3 separate regions of the Homo sapiens genome follow, and regions 2 and 3 are each linked to region 1. Evidence: promoter capture Hi-C in 16 types of primary human blood cells and fetal thymus (Javierre and others, 2016). All regions are on one chromosome and are shown on one strand. Each heading gives the region's core, a stretch centred on a gene start or on the middle of the fragment in contact. The rest is flanking DNA. Distances are from core to core; before and after follow the strand shown.

Evidence for each region. Contacts are between HindIII fragments. The CHiCAGO score rates a contact against its expected background, and 5 or more counts as called.
Region 2: a fragment that was not itself captured here is called in contact with the fragment with the promoter of ADGRD1 in region 1 in 3 of 17 cell types (M1 macrophages, M0 macrophages and M2 macrophages); the score reaches 6.5 in M1 macrophages.
Region 3: a fragment that was not itself captured here is called in contact with the fragment with the promoter of ADGRD1 in region 1 in 1 of 17 cell types (M1 macrophages); the score reaches 5.4 in M1 macrophages.

What each region holds. Positions count from the first base shown.
Region 1 is chr12:130,952,627-130,955,186 of GRCh38, forward strand. ADGRD1 (adhesion G protein-coupled receptor D1) reads left to right here and starts at 1,281. Exons shown (of 25, transcript NM_198827.5): 1 at 1,281-1,905; 2 at 1,998-2,034. The coding sequence starts at 1,840. The HindIII fragment of the contact is 10,485 bases long and covers 1-2,560 here.
Region 2 is chr12:131,453,812-131,456,371 of GRCh38, forward strand. It overlaps a transcript of LOC101929974 not described here. Among named protein-coding and RNA genes, the nearest start is that of LINC02370, 110 kb to the left of the region's middle. RefSeq lists an enhancer at 861-1,366 and a silencer at 943-992. The HindIII fragment of the contact is 6,581 bases long and covers 1-2,560 here.
Region 3 is chr12:131,416,248-131,418,807 of GRCh38, forward strand. No RefSeq gene overlaps it. Among named protein-coding and RNA genes, the nearest start is that of LINC02370, 70 kb to the left of the region's middle. The HindIII fragment of the contact is 1,730 bases long and covers 405-2,134 here.

The sequences.
Region 1 (2,560 bases), core at 31-2,530:
AGGTTGTAAATTAGTTTTCCCTGAAGCCGACCAGCCTGAGCAACAGGATAAAGGTCGTTATTACAGACAGCCCCCGGCCTTTGGAGTTCACAGTTTCTCCATTGCTAGGAGATGGAACTCTCTGGAACCCTTCTCCAGCTCCACAGAGAGGCTCAGGCTATCAGAGGATCTGAGCGGTTGTAGGCTGCAGGCACAAGTTAAAAATAATCACCTAACGTTTTGACAGCACTTTCTTTTTTTCTGTCCCACAGAGATTGGAAGTCATTTTCTTATCCTCTTTAGGAAGTATGTTGGATTCAGGATTCTTAATTCCCATTTAAAGTCAGGACAATTGAGATAACTGTATCAGCTAACATTTACTGGGTGTTATGTTATACTTGCTAATAATAATCATAGCTAACATTTACTGAGTGATAATTTTTCTTAATAGAAAATAGCAGCATTTACTGAGTGCCACATATTTTCCAAGTACTGCCTGAAGAGCCTTGGATCTGTCCTCTAATTTATTGTTACAGCCCTGAGGAGGAGGAACTATTAACCCCCATTTTGTGGATGAGGAATTCGAAAACTAAGAGAGATCAAGTAATTTGCCTAGGAGCACAGCTGGTGAATGTTGGAGAAAGTATGAAGCGGTAAATATTACTTAAATCACATAGCAAATATAGCTGTGACTGCAATTCTAGGGTGTGTGTCTCTGTGTGTCCACGTGTATTTGGAGTAGATCGGATAAACTTTGGTCTTGGGTAAACTGAGGCATGTCTGGCGAAGGGGCTGACTCTTTTCTATCCCATTGAGAACATCCTCCTGGTGCTGGGGTGGGGGTATATGTGGGATGGTGTAATTGCGCAGCGTACCTTGTAATTAATTCCGTAGCTTTCACTGACGTCCGAAAGGATTAGAGAGAAAAATGTGGTCAGCGCTTAATATGGAGGGCACAGTGGGTGTGCTGCTTTCTCTTTTCCATCCCTCTGTCAACTTCATTCTCTTTTGGGGGCAAACAAGACTCAGATCTAAACAGAGTTTATGGTTTGTTTTGCATTTTGTATTTATTAATATTTATGCCGACTTTGAAGGTGCTGACCAGAAGGCATCAGTAACACACACACGCACACGCACACACACCACACACCATGTCTGTTTGGTTTGATTCTGAGCCTGAGATCCTGGAAATATTTCAGCTGTTGTTAAGAGGCTGGAGTTAGGACCCAGGAAGGACACAGCAGTGGGGATATAAATAGAAAAGGAGAACAGAACAAAGTTTGAGGAGAGAGACTTACATCACTCACTCCCCCTCCACCCAGAGAGCAGGACGGAGGTGTGAACTTGAGCCAGACCAGAAGGAGCTCGAGAGCGGCCGCAGGACAAGCCCGAGGAGCAGGCGGGCGCTCCAGGGGAAAACCACGCACAAAACCTTCTTCAGAGAAAAGGGAAGCTCCAAACCTGACTGAGACAAACGGAGGCTCTTGAAATAAAAAGAAAATACCGCAGGACAAACAGCCTCCCGTCCCCGGGCGCAGGTCGCGGTCACAGTGGTGACCTGGGATTGCTTTCCCAGGACTGCGAGTCGGGTTTGGGTTTCTCCTCCCTGCATTCCACAGCTGCTCTGGTCATCGCAACGTGTTTATTGATCACTGAAGAATCTCAAGTTTTGAGACGAGGAAGAAACACCCATTAGGTCTCCAAGACAGCTGTGTTTCACAAACTTTAAGGAGACAGAAATTTTCTCCCCTGGAACCTGTGAAAATGTCCCTTTTCCAAGGAAGTGAAGGTTAAGAGGTCCCGTTCTCACAGACCCTCAGGAATTTCACTTGGCTCCGAGCTTTGACCTCCGAGAGAGCCATGGAAAAGCTGCTGCGGCTGTGCTGCTGGTACTCCTGGCTGCTGCTATTTTATTACAACTTTCAGGTAATGTCCCCAAGTGGCCAGGATGGCGACAGGCTTGGTTTCTCCGGAGGCTTTCCCTGAGTGTGTCTCACACTGTGGTCTTTTGTGCGCAGGTGCGTGGCGTCTACTCCAGATCGCAGGACCATCCAGGTAAGAGTGTTTCCTTCTCACTCTGAGCACCGCTCTCCCCCTGCCTAGTGCAGGTATCTCAGGAACAGCCCACTTGTTCATCTCTGAGGCATCAGCGAATGGCCCTTGTTGGGCTCCTGGTCCCCGACCTCACTGCCTCACCACACACTGTGACCCTGGGCAGCTCTGCTACCCCTCACCGGCTGAGCGGTGGATGGAGAAGTGGTTCTGGGCCCCTTGAGCTGGGTCATATGAAACATTGTGATTAAGGAAATATGATCTTCATTTGAATGCCTTCTGCCTCTTTCTTTCTCTCTTTCTCTCTTTCTTCCTTTCTTCCTTTTTTTCTTTTTGAGATGGAGTCTTGCTCTGTTGCCCAGGCTGGAGTGCAGTGGCCGCAACCTCTGCCTCCCGGGTTCAAGCAATTCTCCTGCCTCAGCCACCTGAGTAGCTGGGATCACAGGTGTGCACCACTACACCCAGCTTTTTTTTTTTTTGTATTTTTAGTAGAGACAGGGTTTCACTATGTTGGCCAGGCTGGTCTCGA
Region 2 (2,560 bases), core at 42-2,541, 500 kb after region 1:
TGAAGGGGTTAAGAGCATGAGCTTTGGGGACAGGAGGTAGCCCTTGGTTTCATTTCCAACCAATCCTTATTACCTCTGTAATTATATACAAGTTCCTGAAGACCTCTCAGAACTTTTGTTTCTTCATCTGCAAAAGAAGGTCATTGTGATGATGTATTTTATGTAAAACACATAGCACAGAATATAACACATAGTAAGTCCTTAATAAATATTAAGCAAAAGAGGGAAAGATATTCTAACTTTATCCATAACTATCTCTGAATGTTTATAAACAGAGTCCCTAGGGAAATACAAGTGCTGCCTGAATATCTGTGTTTAAGTGTAAACCCATCTAAATAAAATCAATTAAACTGGAAGCAATATTTCATAAGGAAAAGACTAGAGGTTACAGCTCTTAGCCTGCCTGCTATTAACCATCTTTGGGATCTTACTTAATATAGGACTTCATCATCACGATGCAGTTTAAGAGACTGCTTCCTGAACTGTCTATTCCAGACTTATGCTGTGTCCTGGGGAGGTAAGAGGGCTTATACATTGCCCCTGCCCCAACTTCACTAGATCAAGATTTTTCTCACTGATGAAATGCATAGGTGGAAGGTGAGAAAGGTTTTACTAAGCTGATTTAAATTATTTTGATTTTAAAATTAAAATTATTGTGATTTTTATCATTTAATTATTTTGCCAGATGCATCTATTGGGTATTAATGTAATGAATCACAGTTAAAAGTTTTCCCAATTATCAAAAATAAATAAATAAATAAATAAATAAATAAATAAATAAATAAATAAAACAAAGAGCATTTGCAGTGAGAATGGGCTGCAGTAGGGTGAGCACTGATGGGAATTGAAGTCCACAAGCTGGCAGGTGGGGCCCTCGTCCCCGGGGCACATGGCATAGGGAAGCAGGAGAGGCGCCCAGGCCTTGTGGGCCTGAGGTTTATGTGACTGGGAGGGTGTTCCTGGGGAAGACACTACAAAATCACACAGAGTTGCAAGGGACCCTCTCACACTCTGCAGAGGCCCATGTGACACGGCAGGGACAGGAACTGCAAGCAGCTCCACTGCAGGAGCACCTGCCCCCCTTGTGGCCATGCAGGGCATACACAGCCCGGCCATGCAGCAGCTCCCAGCCACTCCTCACATGCCCACAGCAACTATCGCCTAAGGAAGAGACGTCTCCCGACCACAGTCACCAGGCCACACGCTCCCTCCAATGGCTCCCTTCCTTTCTGGGTCAAAGCCTGACACTCCCTGGCTCCTGCCCCCACCCCTGCCTCAACATCTGTGCCCAGCCCCACAGCTCCATCTGCTCCTTAAACCCCCGAGCTCCTTACCTGGACATCAATGTGGTGGGGAAGGCCAGCGAGGAGCCTTAGAGGACGTGACTTTTAAGCAGAATCCTTAAGAAAGAGTGGAACGTGGCCAGGTAGAAATCTGACGGAAGTGTCCAGCAAAGGCAGGCCCGAGTCCCAGGATCCCCGACGGTTAGGAGCTTGGTTGGCTGAGGACAGGTGTGGGCAGCTCCTGCTGAGGCAGGAGAGGTAGGCAGCGCCAGGCAGTCAGGGCCTATTAGGACGAGGACTCACCCAGCCTGAGGAGACTCTGAGGAAACGCGTGATGCAGACAGACTTAAAACTGTAAGAGGCCCCATGGCTGCTCTGGACAGGGAGGGTTGGCGGGACAAAGGCAGGTGGAGGCGCCACGGAGTCTGTTCATGGGGGTTCAGGAGAGAGTGATGAGGGTGGGCTGGCACCGAGGGGGCTCCTCCAAGGGAGGGTTATGAGAAATTCCCTTGGGGCCAAAGGGGATTGACATGTGGTCATGGGAAGGGCAGCCCGGAGACTCCCTCCTGAATAGTCACCAAGGTCCAGTTCCCTTGTGCATGGCGGAACCCAGGCCTGTGGGCGGCTCTTCCACCCCATGGGGTGGGGGCACAGGACAGGGAGGAAGCACTTTGGGGACCCCTCAGAGCCCCGGTTCAGCGAACCTCAGGAGCCCGCGCAACCCACAGCCCATTCTGGAAATGGTGGTATCCCACCCAGGGGCCCAGTGGGGAGGGGAGGTGGGCCAGGCTTTCCACTGTGCTCTCCTTGTCATCTGCAGCTGAGACTCCAGCCCAGCTCACTCCTGTGTCTTCTCGTCCTAATCTCTGACATGAGTACAGTAGGACTCACCCGACAGCAGGTGCTCTCAGATCCCTGCCCATTTCTGGCCAAAAGAGCCTTCAGGACAGCCCGGCAGTGCCAGGAATCGGGAAGCTCATGGGGACCGCAAGGTCTGGAGATGGGAGGGCAGGGGAATGTGTGTGTGTATGTGTGTCTGTGTGTCTGTGTACGTGTGTGTGTGTGTCTGTGTATGTATGTGTGTGCATATGTATGTGTATGTGTGTGTATATGTGTGTGTGTGTGTCCTTCCTGGAGCTTCTTAGTGTACCTGCAAATGCCTCCAAGAGCAACCCACGTGCCTGTCCTGGGCCTGTGGCCCTGATGCCCTTTCATCCATGCCCCGCCCTTCCTGATCTGCTGGGAATTTGTGGGGGTTGGGGGCTGATCTGCTGCGA
Region 3 (2,560 bases), core at 20-2,519, 460 kb after region 1:
ACTCTTATGTGGGTGTCCCTGTTCCCACAGCTGAACCCTCCTGACAGATGCACCTGTTCCCACGCTGGAGCCGTGGACTCCCTTCCCCTTGTTCCTCAGCCCAGATTCCTGCATCCTCAGGGATGTGTTGCCAAGCACCAGGGGTTTGGTTAGGTCCAGTTACTCATCACATAGAAAGCCAATCACTGAGACAAGTACTGCCAGAGAAGAAAGGCTTGAATGCAGACCAGTCCCAAATGAATCTCTCTAACCCACTAGTTAGGAGTAAGGAAGAGGAGTTGGCCAACAAACAGCAAGTCTCATTGGTTGGATGCAGTGATCTGGGAAAGTTCAGTTCCTTGATACTATCTGGAAGTCCTGACGGTTGGTTTCCTGAGACATGAACTCAGATAATAATCTTCTCAAGCTTTGTTTCTATGGGGAAATTGGGCCAGTTCCAGAAGCAGGTTTGTTTGGGCCTCAGTAGAGGGGGGAAGGTCCCAGGCATGGTGGTCCAAGGATGCTCTATGAAGCCTGGCTCTGCTGTCTGAAGTTCAAGTATATTCAACTCACAGAAATGCATCCTCCACCTCCTCTTTTCCACTGGTGTGGTTAGGCTGTGTCCCCACCCAAATCTCATCTTGAATTGTAATCCCCACAATCCCCAGCTGTCATTGGAGGGACACAGTGGGAAGTGATTGGATCATGGGGGCAGTTTCCCTCATGCTGTCCTTGTGATAGTGAGTGAGTTCTCATGAGATTTGATGGTTTTATAAGTTTGCAAGTTCCGCCTTCATTCATTCTCTCACCTGCCACCTTGTGAAGAAGGTGCCTGCCTCCTCCTCACCTTCTGCCATGACTGTAAGTCTCCTGAGGCCTCCCCAGTCATACGGAACTGTGAGTCAATTAAACCTCTCTCCTTTGTAAATTACCCAGTCTCAGGCATTTCTTATAGCAGTATGAGAACAAACTAATACATCCGCCTTCTCTCTTTCTTTTTTCCTTGCACAGTGAAAGTATCAGGTAATGACACTGGCCATTTATAGAGCACACCCTTCACCAGGCACTGTGCTAACATGTGTGAATGATCTCACTGATACTCATGGCAGGCCTATGGGTGAGGCCATGTTTGCCTCCCCATTCTACAGCTGTGGAAACTGAGGCTCAGGTCCTGAGTACCAGCACATAGCTGGCAAGTGGGCAGGGTGTGGACAGGGCAGTCCAGCTCCAGAGCCCTCTGACCTTACTGCACAGGGAGATCCTGTCACTGCCTCTTGTCAAGCAGAAGAGCCTAGCCTCTGTTCAGGATTTGTTACTTTCATAATATGTCCCCATGGAACAAGCCATTGGTCCCCCCAAGTGGTGCTCTCAGCCAATACTTCAGGTGGCTTCTCCTGACTGCCCCATCTGTGCAGGGTGTAGGAGAAATAGATGTTCTCTGAGGGCATGGCCTGTGTGGCCAAGACTGTGAAGGCCCCACAGCCCTTTGGAAATGTATGGGAGGTTGGCCACAGGGCCTTGACCAGCTTGGGCCTGCCATGGTCCTACTGGGCCAAGGTCCAAGAATGGTCATCAAGAGCCTGGAGGGTGTGTCTAGGGCTCGCCCTGGAGTGGACACGGCAGCCTGTAGGGGGTCTCTGTCTGCACCTCTCCATGGTGTAACCCAACAGCCTCTATGTCCACCCGAGGCTTGGACCTCACTTTGAGGCTGGGTGGGCAAGCCTCTCCCACATCACTGCCCACAGCCATGTCAGTATCTCCTAGGTAAGGAGCTCCCTGCATTCCCCTCTCAAACTTGCTTCTGCAGAGAAGAGTTTGCTGAACAACTTCTGAGCTCAAGACCCAGTGAGTTCTTCTGTTTCTGGCTTCTTTTACTTAGAATGATGCCCTCCAGGTTCATCCGTGTTATTGCGAATGGTAGGATTTCCCTGTTGGTTGGCTGGCTCGTGTTCCATTGTGTGTGTACCTTCACATTGTCCTCATCCATTCAGCTGTCGGTGGGAATTTAGGTTGTTCGCATATCTTTGCTGCTGTGACAGTGCTGCAACGAGGATTGCCGATATCTCTTCCAGATCCTAAGCTCAGTTCATCTGGATAACTGCCCAGAAGTGGGATGGCTGAATCATACAGCTGTGCTAGTTTTAATTTTTTGAGAAGCTTCCATATTGTTTTCCATAGCAACTACATCATTTTACATTCCTTTCTGGGGTATACGGTGGTTCCAACTTCTCCATCTCCTCACCAGCACTTACCTCTTGTATTTTTGATAATGGTCTCCCAACAGGTGTGGTTTGGATTTGCATTTCCCCCCTGATTCATGATGTTGAGCATCTTTTTCATACACCTGTTGGTCATTTGTATGTCTTCTTTGGAGAAATGTGTATTCAGGTCTTTTGCCTTCGATTCCATTTGTAGGAGGCCTCTAAAATAGTCAAACTCATAGAAACACCGTAGAATGGGGGTGGCCTGGGACTGGGGAAGGGGATGTGGGGAGTTGCCGTTCAGCTGGTATGAGTTTCAGTTCTCCAAGATGAGTAAGTTCTGGGGATCTGTTGTACAACACTGTGCCTATAGTTTACAA